Linked DNA regions of Homo sapiens: region 2 is linked to region 1. The links are contacts of gene promoters, found by promoter capture Hi-C in blood cells and fetal thymus (Javierre and others, 2016). All regions are on one chromosome and are shown on one strand. Each heading gives the region's core, a stretch centred on a gene start or on the middle of the fragment in contact. The rest is flanking DNA. Distances are from core to core; before and after follow the strand shown. Region 1 holds the start of PHACTR4 (phosphatase and actin regulator 4). Region 2 overlaps SESN2 (sestrin 2).

Evidence for each region. Contacts are between HindIII fragments. The CHiCAGO score rates a contact against its expected background, and 5 or more counts as called.
Region 2: a fragment that was not itself captured here is called in contact with the fragment with the promoter of PHACTR4 in region 1 in 1 of 17 cell types (M1 macrophages); the score reaches 6.3 in M1 macrophages.

Annotation. Positions count from the first base shown.
Region 1 is chr1:28,366,343-28,372,313 of GRCh38, reverse strand. PHACTR4 (phosphatase and actin regulator 4) reads right to left here and starts at 2,574. Exons shown (of 14, transcript NM_001048183.3): 1 at 2,489-2,574. RefSeq lists a silencer at 2,201-2,420 and enhancers at 2,502-2,796, 2,447-3,402. The HindIII fragment of the contact is 7,867 bases long and covers 1,158-5,971 here.
Region 2 is chr1:28,264,905-28,271,050 of GRCh38, reverse strand. SESN2 (sestrin 2) reads right to left here. Exons shown (of 10, transcript NM_031459.5): 2 at 1,803-1,868. Among named protein-coding and RNA genes, the nearest start is that of SESN2, 8.5 kb to the right of the region's middle. The HindIII fragment of the contact is 2,975 bases long and covers 1,800-4,774 here.

The sequences.
Region 1 (5,971 bases), core at 1,325-3,824:
ACTTCAGTAACCTTCCCTGATTCATGTAAAGGGGTCCTCCTGGCTGTCCTCATCCCAGAGACTTGAAACACGAATTAACCTATTTTTCAAAAGGGTTATTTGCAATGACCTTCTTTAGAATTTTTTATTGGCCAGGCACGGTGGCTCACACCTGTAATCCCAGCACTTTGGGAGGCGGAGGCAGGTAAATTACTTTAGGTCAGGAGTTCCAGACCAGCCTGGCCAACACGGTGAAACACCATCTCTACTAAAAAAAAAAAAAAAATTAGCCGGGAGTGGTGGCACATGCCTGTAATTCCAGCTACTCGGGAGGCTGAGGCAGGAGAATCGCTTGAAACCAGGAGGAAGAGGTTGCAGTGAGCCAAGATCACGCCACTGCACAGCCTGAGCAACAGAGCAAGACTCTATCTCAAAAAACAAATACAGTATTCTTTATCTTAAGGTTTAATACCAGCACTTTGGGAGGGAGGATCACTTGAGCCCAGGAGTCCAAGACCAGCCTGGGCAACAGAGTGGGACCCCAATCAATACAAAAATTTTTTTAAAAATTTTTTTAATTAGCTGCGCTGGTGGCCTGTGTCTGTTGTCCCAGCTACTCTGGAGGCAGAGGCTTGAGCCCAGGAGGAGGTCCAGGCTGCAGTGAGCAGTGCTCAACTCACTGCACTCCAGCCTGGGAAACCCAGCGAGACCCTATTTCAAAAAATAAATACATAAAAATTGGCCAGGCACGGTGGCTCACGCTTGTAATCCCAGCACTTTGGGAGACCGAGGCGGGTGGATCACCTGAGGTTAGGAGTTCAAGGCCAGCCTGGCTAACATGGTGAAACCTTGTTTCTACCAAAAATACAAAAACTAGCTGGGCATGGTGGCACACACCTGTAATCCCAGCTACTCAGGAGGCTGAGGCAGGAGAATCGCTTCAACCTGGGAAGTGGAGGTTGCAGTGAGCCAAGATCGTGCCATTGCATTCCAGCCTGGGTAACAAAGTGAGATTGTCTCAAAATAAATAAATAAATATAAATAAATTAAATTAAATAGTCGGGCACAGTGGCTCATGCCTCTAGTCCCAGGCATCTGGGAGCCTCTGGTGGAAGGATGGCTTAAGCCAAGAAGTTCGAGGCTACAGTGAACTAGGAGCTCTCCACTGTACTCAAGCTTCAGCAACCAAGCTAGACTCTTGTCTCTTAAATGAAACAAACAAACAAATTTTACCTTAAGCTGATTCTAGCAATGCAGTCTTCCAACAGGAGGACATACACAGTTACCATTATCTAGCCAAATTTGATCGAATCCACAATCCACGCAGTTCCGCGGTTTCCGGTAAGAATCTACCACACCTCATCCCCTAAACTGGCTTCATTTCTAAACGGGCTTCATTCCTTTTTTTTTTAAGATGGGGTCTTGCTGTGTTGCCCAGGCTGGTCGCGAACTTCTGGCCTCAAGCGATTCTCCTGCCTCAGCCTCCAGAATAGTTGGCATTACAGGCGCGCGCCACCACGCCCGAAATTCATTTCTTTAATTTGGCGAAAAAGTAAGTGACTTCTAGAAGCCACTGGGTTTCTGGTTCCTCTATAAAGCAAATTCTTCCACTGAAGGACTTTTTCCTTCCACTGTTTGTTTTAAAAAGAACAAGAAAAGGAAGAGGTTGGAAGGAGCGAGGAGCTGAGTGTCCGAATGAAGCACTGGAGGGTTTTTTTTTTTTGCAAGCAATCAGTGATGCCCTGTAAGTCACTCTCCTCCGAGATTTGGGAGGTGCGTGAACTGCCATTCTACCATTCACCACTGGTTCTTTGGTCCACCGATCACAGATGTGAGCTGCACAGACATCGCAGCAAATTCGATGCCTTCCCGGTTTCCCGGAGCCGGGGTGTAGAGGGTGGGAGAGAGGGGTCGCTTCTTTTCCTTAATCTCATCTCTCCACCAAGAAAAACGTCGGGAGTTTCGTGCCCTGAAGCCGCCCAGGCTGATGTTTGAAAGTTAAATAATAACCTCCAGGTTTTTACAGAAACTCCGCCTGGCTCCGAAGCCCCCGTTCTGCCCAGCAGGGGTGCAGAGGTCTGAGGCAGGACGGTTTTGAAAAATGTACTTTGACCCGATCCGGTTACTGTAACCGGATCCCCAGGGAGCAGTCCCTGTTGGGGACCGGGGGAACAGGCTCCCCCGTGGCGGAGACTCCATGCACGGACACAAAGGGGGAGCAACGCAGCCCAGACAAAAGGGCCCAGCCAAGTCTCGGGGGGCGGAGAGGGCGAGCCTGCGCGGGCCCTGCCTCAGGCGGAGAAGCCCGGGTTGGACCGTTGTGGGAGGGCCGAGGAGGGAGGCGGCGGCCCCGCCCCGCCCTGGCCCGAAGCGACGGCGACCCGGGCCGTTACCTTCTGCCCGGACCGGGACCCTCTCGCAGAGCCAAGAAAGGGGCCGCAGCCTGAGAGGAGGCCGCAGCCTGATACTGAGCGCGTCCTGCTCACTTTCCCTTGCTCGCTGAACTTACCCAGATCTCCGCCGCCGCCTCCTCAGCCTCCACAGCAGCCTCTCCCGGAAATCCTACCTGGCCCGTTGGCCGCCAGGCAGCAGCCGGAGCCCTTGGCCCCCGGGGAGGGGGAAAAAGGGAGCCGGCTGGACAGTGTAGGGTAGGACGTGCCGCCGCGGAGGCTTACGGGACTTGTAGTCCCCAGCAGGGGCCGGTTGCCCGGCAAGCTGAACAAAATGGCGGGAAGCGTGCGTCCTTTCTCTCCGGGCGGTCGTCCTCCTTACGACCTCTCTGGGCATGCGCTGGCCGCTCTGCGCACCTTGTGTGTAAAAGAACTTGGGCACCTTTCCTGGTACTATGGGAGGCAAAGGTCTTTGGGCTTGGGAGGACAGGGTTCAATACTGGGCTCCAGGCAGTACCCAAAAAGGGAACTGATACAAGAGTGTTGTTTGAGAAAACTGTATCCCTGACTGGCCAAATTTCAATCATAACCTCCCCAAAGGAAAAACTATTTATTGAGGACCAATTTGAAGTGCAAAAAACGTACAAGCAAGTTATCTACCCTCAGTGTTGTGCGTAAGAAACCCAGGAATCATTCTGGACACTTCCCTCAAGCCATTAAGTCCAGTCATTCTACATCCCCAGTATTTTAATTCATTTCGATATCCTTCACTACTATCACCTAGTGAAAGCCACCATCACTTCTCTCCAAGTCTCAGTAGTTTCAGGCCCTAGGCTATCACCCTCCGAAAACCTTCCTTGCTGCTGCCAGAGGACCCTTCTAAATGCAAACCCATTGTATCACACAACCTAAATTAGACCTACATGTAAAACTTGAAGCTACGGCACATCTAGAGGACATTCCAGGAGAAAAATCGATGTGACTTTTCAAATACACTATCCATAAAATTAAAAAAATTGGCCAGGCGCGGTGGCGCATGCCTGTAATCCCAGCTACTCAGGAGGCTGAGGCAGGAGAATCGCTTGAACCCAGGAGGCGGAGGTTGCAGTGAGCCGAGATCTTGCCATTGCAGTCCAGCCTGGGCGACAGAGCAAGACTCCGTCGCAAAACAAACAAACAAACAAACAAACAAATTATCCGGGGCCTAGTGCCAAGCTCCTGTAGTCCCAGCTACGTGGGAGGCTGAGGTGAGATGATCACTTGAGCCTGGGGGGTCGAGATCGCACCAGTGCACTCCAGCCTGGGCAGCAGAGCAAGACCCTGTCTCAATAGAAAAAGAAAAAAGAAGAAAAAAAAATTGGCCGGGTGCAGTGGCTCACACCTCTCATCCCAGCACTTTGGGAGGCTAAGGCGGGAGGATCCCTTGAGCCCTGGAGTTTGAGACCAGCCTGCCAGCCTGGGCAACAGAGTGAGGCCCCATCTCTACAAAAACAATTTTAAAAATTAGCTGGGCATGATGGAACGTGCCTGTAGTCCCAGGTACTCAGGAGGCTGAAATAGGAGGATTATTTGAGCTGGGGAGGTCCAGGCTGCAATGAGCTGTGATGGTGTCGCTACACTCCAGCCTGGACGACAGAGGGAGACCTTGTCTCAAAAAAATATTTAAAATATATTTATTGGCCTGGCACGGTGGCTCACGCCTGTAATCCCAGCACTTTGTGAGGTTGAGGCTGGTAGATCACCTGAGGTCAGGAGTTCGAGACCAGCCTCTCCAAAATGGTGAAACCACATCTCTACTAAAAATACAAAAATTGGCCGGGCACGGTGGCTCACACTTGTAATCCCAGCACTTTGGGAGGCTGAGGCGGGCGGGTCACGAGGTCAGGATATCGAGACCATCCTGGCTAACGCAATGAAACCCTGTCTCTACTAAAAATACAAAAAATTAGCCGGGCGTGGTGGAGGGCGCGTGTAGTCCCAGCAACTCGGGAGGCTGAGGCAGGAGAATGGCGTGAACCCGGGAGGCAGAGCTTGCAGTGATCTGAGATCGCGCCACTGCACTCCAGCCTGGGCAACAGAGCGAGATCCCGTCTTAAAAAAAAAAAATACAAAAATTTATTGGGCGTGATGGCCCACCCCTGTAATCCCAGCTACTCAGGAGGGTGAGGCAGGAGAAGCGCTTGAACCCAGGAGGCGGAGGTTTCAGGGAGCCGAGATCGCACCATTGCACTCCAGCCTGGGTTACAAGAGGGAAACTCAGTCTCAAAAATAAAATTAAAAAATATATTTTTTTAAATTAATAGGCTACACATGATAACTCATGCCTGTAATTCCAGCACTCTGGAAGGCCAAGGCTGGAGGGCTGGTTGAGACCATGGGTTCAAGACCAGCCTGGGCAACACAGTGAGACTCCATCTCTAAAATATAAATAAATAAATTTTAAAAAGAAAAAAATTGCCGGGCGTGGTGGCTCACGCCTGTAATCCTAGCACTTTGGGAGGCCGAGGCAGGTGGATCACAAAGTCAGGAGATTGAGACCATCCTGGCTAACACGGTGAAACCCCATCTCTACTAAAAATACAAAAAATTAGCTGGGCGCGATGGCGGGCTCCTGTAGTCCCAGCTACTCGGGAGGCTGAGGCAGGAGAATGGCGTGAACCCGGGAGGCAGAGCTTGCAAGTGAGCCGAGATCTTGCCACTGCACTCCAGCCTGGGCAACAGAGCGAGACTCCGTCTCAAAAAAAAAAAAAAGAAAAGAAAAGAAAAGAAAAAAATTGAATAAATTGTATATCATCAAAATTTCAAACTTTAGTCAAGACTGTTATGAAAATAAAGATAAAACCGGGCGCGGTGGCTCACGCCTGTAATCCCAGCACTTTGGGAGTCCGAGGTGGGCAGATCACGAAGTCAGGAGATCGAGACCATCCTGGCTAACACAGTGAAACCCCGTCTCTACTAAAAATACAAAAAATTAGCCGGGCGTGGTGGTGGGCGCCTGTGGTCCCAGCTACTCGGGAGGCTGAGGCAGGAGGATGGTGTGAACCTGGGAGGCAGAGCTTGCAGTGAGCGGAGACTGTGCCACTGCACTCCAGCCTGGGCGACAGAGCGAGACTCCGTCTCAAAAAAAAAAAAAAAAAAAAGAAAAGAAAGATAAGCTGGCCAGGCTCAGTGACTCACCCATGTAATCCCCACACTTTCAGAGGCTGAAGCGAGTGGATCACCTGAGGTCAGGAGTTCAGGACCAGCCTGGCCAACATGGTGAAACCCCATCTCTATTAAAATACAAAAAAATTAGCCAGATGTGGTGGTGCATGCCTGTAATCCCAGCTTCTTGGGAGGCTGAGGCAGGAGAATTGCTTGAACCCAGGAGGCTGAGGTTGCAGTGAGCAGAGATTGCGCCATTGCACTCCAGCCTGGGCAAAACTCCGTCAAAAAAAAAAAAGAAAGAAAGAAAGAAAGAAAAGAGAGAAAGAGAGAGAAAATGAAGACAAGCCACAGATCAGAGTAAAATTGCGCAAAACATGTAACCATTACCTGGAAATATACAGAGTTATTTCAACTCAACAAGAAGACAAACAACCCAATTTGAAAAACAATTAGCA
Region 2 (6,146 bases), core at 2,038-4,537, 100 kb after region 1:
CAAAGCCTATTTCTTTTTAACTTTTTTTTTTAATACAGACGGGGTCCCACTATGTTGTCCAGGCTGGTCTCGAACTCCTGGGCTCAAGTGATCCCCAAACCTTGGCCTCCCAAAGTGCTGGGATTACAGGCATGAGCTACTGTGCCTGGCTGCCTGTTTCTTCTCTTTATTATAAAAGAGTGGGCTGGGCACGGTGGCTCACATCTGTAATCCCAGCACATTGGGAGGCAGAGATGGGCAGATCACCTAAGGTCCGGAGTTTGAGACCAGCCTGACCAACATGGAGAAACCCCATCTCTGCTAATACAAAATTAGCTGGGCGTGGTGGCTCATGCCTGTAATCCCAGCTACTCGGGAGGCTTGAGGCAGGAGAATTGCTTGAACCTGGGAGGCAGAGGTTGCGGTGAGCCAAGATCGTGCCATTGCACTCCAGCCTGGGCAACAAGAACAAAACTTCGTTTCAAAAAAAAAAAAGGTGGTCACTTATAAATGAAAAAATAAAAGACAAGAGCAATACTTGAGCTTAGAATTCTGGGTCACAGACATAAATAATCGGCAAGTGGTTGTTCGCCTTATATTTACAAAGGAGTAGAGGAACAAGGGGTTTAGAAGGAGGGTAAATGTTTGTTAGCTCCTTAACCACTCGCCCTACACATTTAGGAAAAGCAAAGAGAGGAAACAAATTTTTTTTTTTTTTTTTGAGACGGAGTCTCACTCTGTCACGCAAGCTGGAGTGCAGTGGCGCGATCTCGGCTCACTGCAAGCTCCGCCTCCCGGGTTCATGCCATTCTCCTGCCTCAGCCTCCAGAGTAGCTGGGATTACAGGCGCCCGCCACCACGCCTGGCTAATTTTTTGTATTTTTAGTAGAGACGGTGCTTCACCGTGTTAGCCAGGATGGTCTCGATCTCCTGACCTCGTGATCCGCCCGCCTCGGCCTCCCAAAGTGTTGGGATTACAGGCGTGAGCCACTGCGGCCGGCAAAACAAAAAATTTGTCCTTGTTCACTGATGGCCAAATAAAATGAGGAAACTAGTTTTACATTTTTCTGCATGTTTTGAAGGTAACTCCACTATCCCAACACACTAGAATGTAAGCTCCATAATGGCAAATATTTTTGTCTGTCTTGTTCACTACTATATCCCAAGCAACCAGAACAGTGCCTGACATAGATTAATCATTTAATAGATATGTTAAGTAAATGAATGAATGAACTGACTCAGTAGATGAAAGATGTCTTTCTTGTATTAAGTGAAAAACAAAACAAAAAAACACGTTGTAAACTATGACCTTGGTTCTGTACTGAAAGTAAGTATTGGCTTGAAAAAAGCACAGTAAACAGTGGCAAATGGTTAACAGTGATGATCTCTGCAGGGTGCAGGAGGATACAGGAGATCAGAGCTTTCTGAAACAATGGAAATTTTTAAAATAATAAACATATATTACTTTTAAAACAGAAAAGAGCGTGTAATATATGTATGGTCATGGATGAGATAGATAGTTCTATCTTCTTAAGGGAAAGCAGGCACTGATCTAGGAATCAAAAGTTTGAGCATGAAAAAAAAAAAAAGTTTGGCCACTACCTGGCTATTAGCACTTGATTTCTTTGAGCCTGTTTCTTCCCAGTAAAATGGAGTTGACAGTGCCTGCTTCACAAAGCCGTTTTGTGAATTAAATGAATCAGAAATCAGAAAGGAATAGCTTAAAAGCTGCAATTTAAAGAACAGGAAAAGATGCCTGCCTACCAATATGCCATGTCCTTTCTTCCCAGGGACCAAAGATCCCTAACCCCTTCCAAGCTTACCTCCTCCACGGGGATGAAGGCGCTGGGCCCTCGAGGGCCTCGCCGAGCCCGGCTCTCCCTCTGCTCCTGGGAGGAAACATATGAGGTTAGTCCGTAGTAGAAGGGAGAATAAAGAGGATTATTACCTATCCAGCCTCTTCCTCCTATCCAAGGGGCTACACTGAAGTGTTAAACCCACCTTTCTAGCATACTTTGGATGGTGGAGCCAGATGGGAGATATACACATGTTTGGAAGGGTAATCAAGAAAGAGGGCTCACTCCAGGCTGAGTTCTTCAGGAACTGGGTTGGGACCCAAGAATCCCAGCATTGCGGGATGGGAGGGTCCTGGAAAAGGAACTATATAGCCATCATGCTGCACATCTCCAGGAGGCCACCTTCTTAGTGGTCCCAGAGAACTTATACAAGAACACACCACAGTTTGCACCCTGAAGCCAGGTAACCAAGTACCCCAGATGCTTCAGAAGCAGCTTCAATTTCTCTCACATGTTCGTTCGTTCCTTCCTTCCTTCCTTTCTTCCTCCTCCTCCTCCTTCTTCCTTCCTTCCTTCCTTCTCCTTCCTTCTTTTGCTTCTTTTTTTTTTTGAGACGGAGTATCGCTCTTGTTGCCCAGGCTGGAGTGCAATGGTGCGATCTCAGCTCATTGCAACCTCTGCCTCCTGGGTTCAAGCGATTCTCCTGCCTCAGCCTCCCGAGTAGCTGGGATTACAGGCATGCACAACCACGCTCACCTAATTTTATATTTTTAGTAGAAACTGGGTTTCTCCATGTTGGCCAGGCTGGTCTCGAATCCCCAACCTCAGGTGATCCGCCCACCTCAGCCTCCCAAAGTGCTGGGATTACTGGAATGAGCCACCACGCCTGGCCTCTTCTTTAGTGGTGCAGTCATAGCTCACTATAGCCTCAAACTGCTGGGCTCAATGGATCCTCCTGCCTTGGCCTCCCAAAGCACTGGGATTACAGATGGGAGTCACCATGCCTGGCTGCTTATCTGTCCTCCCACCACCACCACCTCATTAACTACCACCCCCTCTTGTCTGGACCACTACTCACAACCTCGCCAGTTGTCCCCCGGCCTCCTTAGCCCTGGCCTCTCCTATCCATCCTCTACCCAGTAGCCACATTAACTTTCTGAATATAAATCCGATCAACTGGCTTAAAACCCTACCTCCCCCTCCCATGGGCTTCCAGATACAACTGGCCCAGTCCCAGTGGTCACTCCTTTTGCAAAGCTAAACCACAATAGTCTAGGAACCTTTTTCTGGCCCTCACCTATGACCCCAAAATTCCCAGGGCTTTTGCTTCTAAAAACACTGTCATCAAATTGTCTGTTTTGTTTCCCTGACACCAGATCACATTTAGTGGAGAGCAGCGCCAGGTCATTCATACTAGTCTGTGAATGAAGACAGAGAAAGCAGAAAGGCACGGAGGGAATCTGAGCAGGGTGTACAAGGCTGATGGGAGCAACTGTTTTGACCTGTTATATGCTGCAGCCTCTTTAGAAACCACTAATATCAGGTACTCACTACATCTGCTTCTCCTAGTCCTAGAGATGGGGTTCAGGAAGGATGCTCTACTTATTAATTTATTTTGTTAATCTGAGAGTGGAGGTGGCTCTCAGCACTGGTCTTGTTTACAGTTTACCCAAATCAGAGCCATGCTCTCACTGGACAGGGATAGGAGGCGCCCAGTTCTCCCCTTCCCATTAAGATCCAGACTTAGTACCAGCCCTCAGGTATCCGGGAACCAAAAACTATAATTGAACCTTCCTTCTCAGATGGCCAAAAGCCCACTGAGGAGGCAGAGCTCTGGGACTCCAGAAGACTACAAAGTCTCTGGAATAGGTACCAATTCTGCAACTAACTTGCTATGTGGCTCTGGGAAAGTTAAAGGCCTAAACTCTCTTTACCTACTAAACTGGTAGGTAAAGTAGCCCAGCTACCTTCAAAAAGGGAGTTGAGCTGACCGTGCAGGCCCCCTTCAGCCCACACTTCTGGGAACTTCCGGGCCAGGCTGGTCCAAGTTCAGCGTAGTAACCAACACAATCCCTGAGCACTCCCCTTTGGAGCTTCCCTCCCCCTCACCAAAGAAAAAGCCCAACAGCTCTGTATAGGAGATAAGGATTGCTGACTCCACAAACTGGGCCTCCACCTCAGGGGACCTGAGGACAGAATAGCAAGCCACAGCAGGGTAGGGTGGAGCAAAACTGGGGGAGGCAGAGACGGCCCATCAGGGGTGCTAGGGAAGGATAGGAATAGCCTTGGGAATCCCAACTCACTCCAAAATCTGACCCAGGAATTGTCAAAAGAAGGAGCTCTAAGTCATCGGTCTGGATCCATCAACACTTTCAGCAATAACAACAACAACAACAATATACAATGCAGTTAAAAGATAGGGGCCCTTGGCTGGCGCAGCAGCTCATCCCAGCACGTTGGGACACTGAGGCAAGAGGATCGCTTGAGGCCAGGAATTCGAGACCAGCCTGGGCAACACAGTGAGACCCCTGTCTCCACAAACAGTAAATTAGCTGGGCATGGTAGCACACAACCTGTAGTCCCAGCTACTCAGGAGGCTGAGGCAGGAGGACTGCCTGAGCCCAGGAGTTTGAGGTTACAGCAAGCTATGATCGCACCACGGCATTCCAGCCTGAGCAACAGGGCAAGACCCTGTCTCAAAAAAAAAAAAAAAAAAAAAGATGGGGCTCTTGACACAAATTGCATGAGCTCAAATGACAGCTCCACCACCTGCTATCCCTTAGCTTTATGAGCCTCAGTTTCTTTACCAAATAATGGGGATAGCAGTAACTACTTCCACTGGCCAGTGATGAGGATTTCATGAGATAACACTGTGTAGCTTACCTCAATACCTCCATAACAATAAGCACTTAATAAAAAGTCAGGTATCATTAACCTCCTTGCTGTATCAAACAAGGGCTTCTCAACCCAAGCGGTACATTAGAATCCTTTGAGAAGCTTTACAAAAATAACAATGCCAAGGTCCCACCTCCCGCAATTCTAATTTAGTTATCTGGGGTGGGGCCCCAGCATAACAGCCAGGGTGAGGACCATTGTTTACACCATTTATTGATCACTTTCTCAAGTATAAGGCACTATGCTAAGTGCTTTCTAGGTGGAAACAGAATTAATTTGTTCACTCAACAAATATTTTTGATGGCTATATTGCAAGCAGCAAGAATACAGCAGTGAAAAGACAAAGCCCTTGGCCTTCATATAATTCAGAATCTGATAAACAGGATTTCAAAGCACAGATTCTATAAAGTGAGTGAAATAAACAGTAACTGTATGATGGGGAGGGAGAGTGTGCAATATTTTAGTGTAAGTAGACAGGAGAAGCCATTGAGGAGGTGGTCTTTGAGCTGTTATCTAAATGATGAGAAGACAGCAAGGCCTGTAAAGATCTAGGGGGCCTAAGTGGGGTGGTTCACACCTGTAACCCCGGTACTTTGGAAGGCTTGGTGGTGGAGGATCACCTGAGGCTAGGAATTTGAGAACAGTCTGGACAACACAGCAGGACACCCTCTCTTAAAAAACAAACAGGCCGGGCGCAGTGGCTCACGCCTGAAATCCCAGCACTTTGAGAGGCCGAGGCAGGCGGATCACCAGAGGTTGGGAGTTCGAGACCAGCCTGACCAACATGGAGAAACCCCGTCTCTACTAAAAATACAAAAAATTAGCCAGGCATGGTGGTGCATGCCTGTAGTCCCAGCTACTCGGGGGGCTGAGGCAGGAGAATTGCTTGAACCCAGGAGGTGGAGGTTGTGGTGAGCTGAGATCGCACCATTGCACTCCAGCCTGGGCAACAAGAGTGAAACTCCGTCTCAAAACAAACAAACACACACCCCAAAAACTAGGGGGACCAGCATTCCAGCCAGAGGGAACGCGAGTATAAAGCCCTGAAGGCAAAACCAAGTAGATTTGAATCCATGGCTCCAATACCCTGAATGCTTCCCCGATCCTGACAGAGGAAGCAGGCAGGGCAGCATACCACTGCCAAGAAATGACCCCTCCAAGTCAGCCCTCCCTGCCCAATTCCCTGGACTGGGGAGTCAGTAATAACAATGGTGCATAACAAGGCTGGTTACCACTGGCTAAGCATTAATTTCACATGCACTACCTGGACTTTAGGGCAGAAGCTACTACTAGGGCTTCCATTTTACAGATGAGGAACAAGGCTCAGAGAGGTCAACTCACTTCTGGCTACTCAGGCAGGAAGGCAGTAGCAGGGCTGGGATACAACCCAGGTTTCTGCAAGTGCAGAAATGATTCCCCATTCTCTAAACTTCTCAAGGTCTCAATAGTCTCCAGGCTGCTGCATCTGGGACTCAC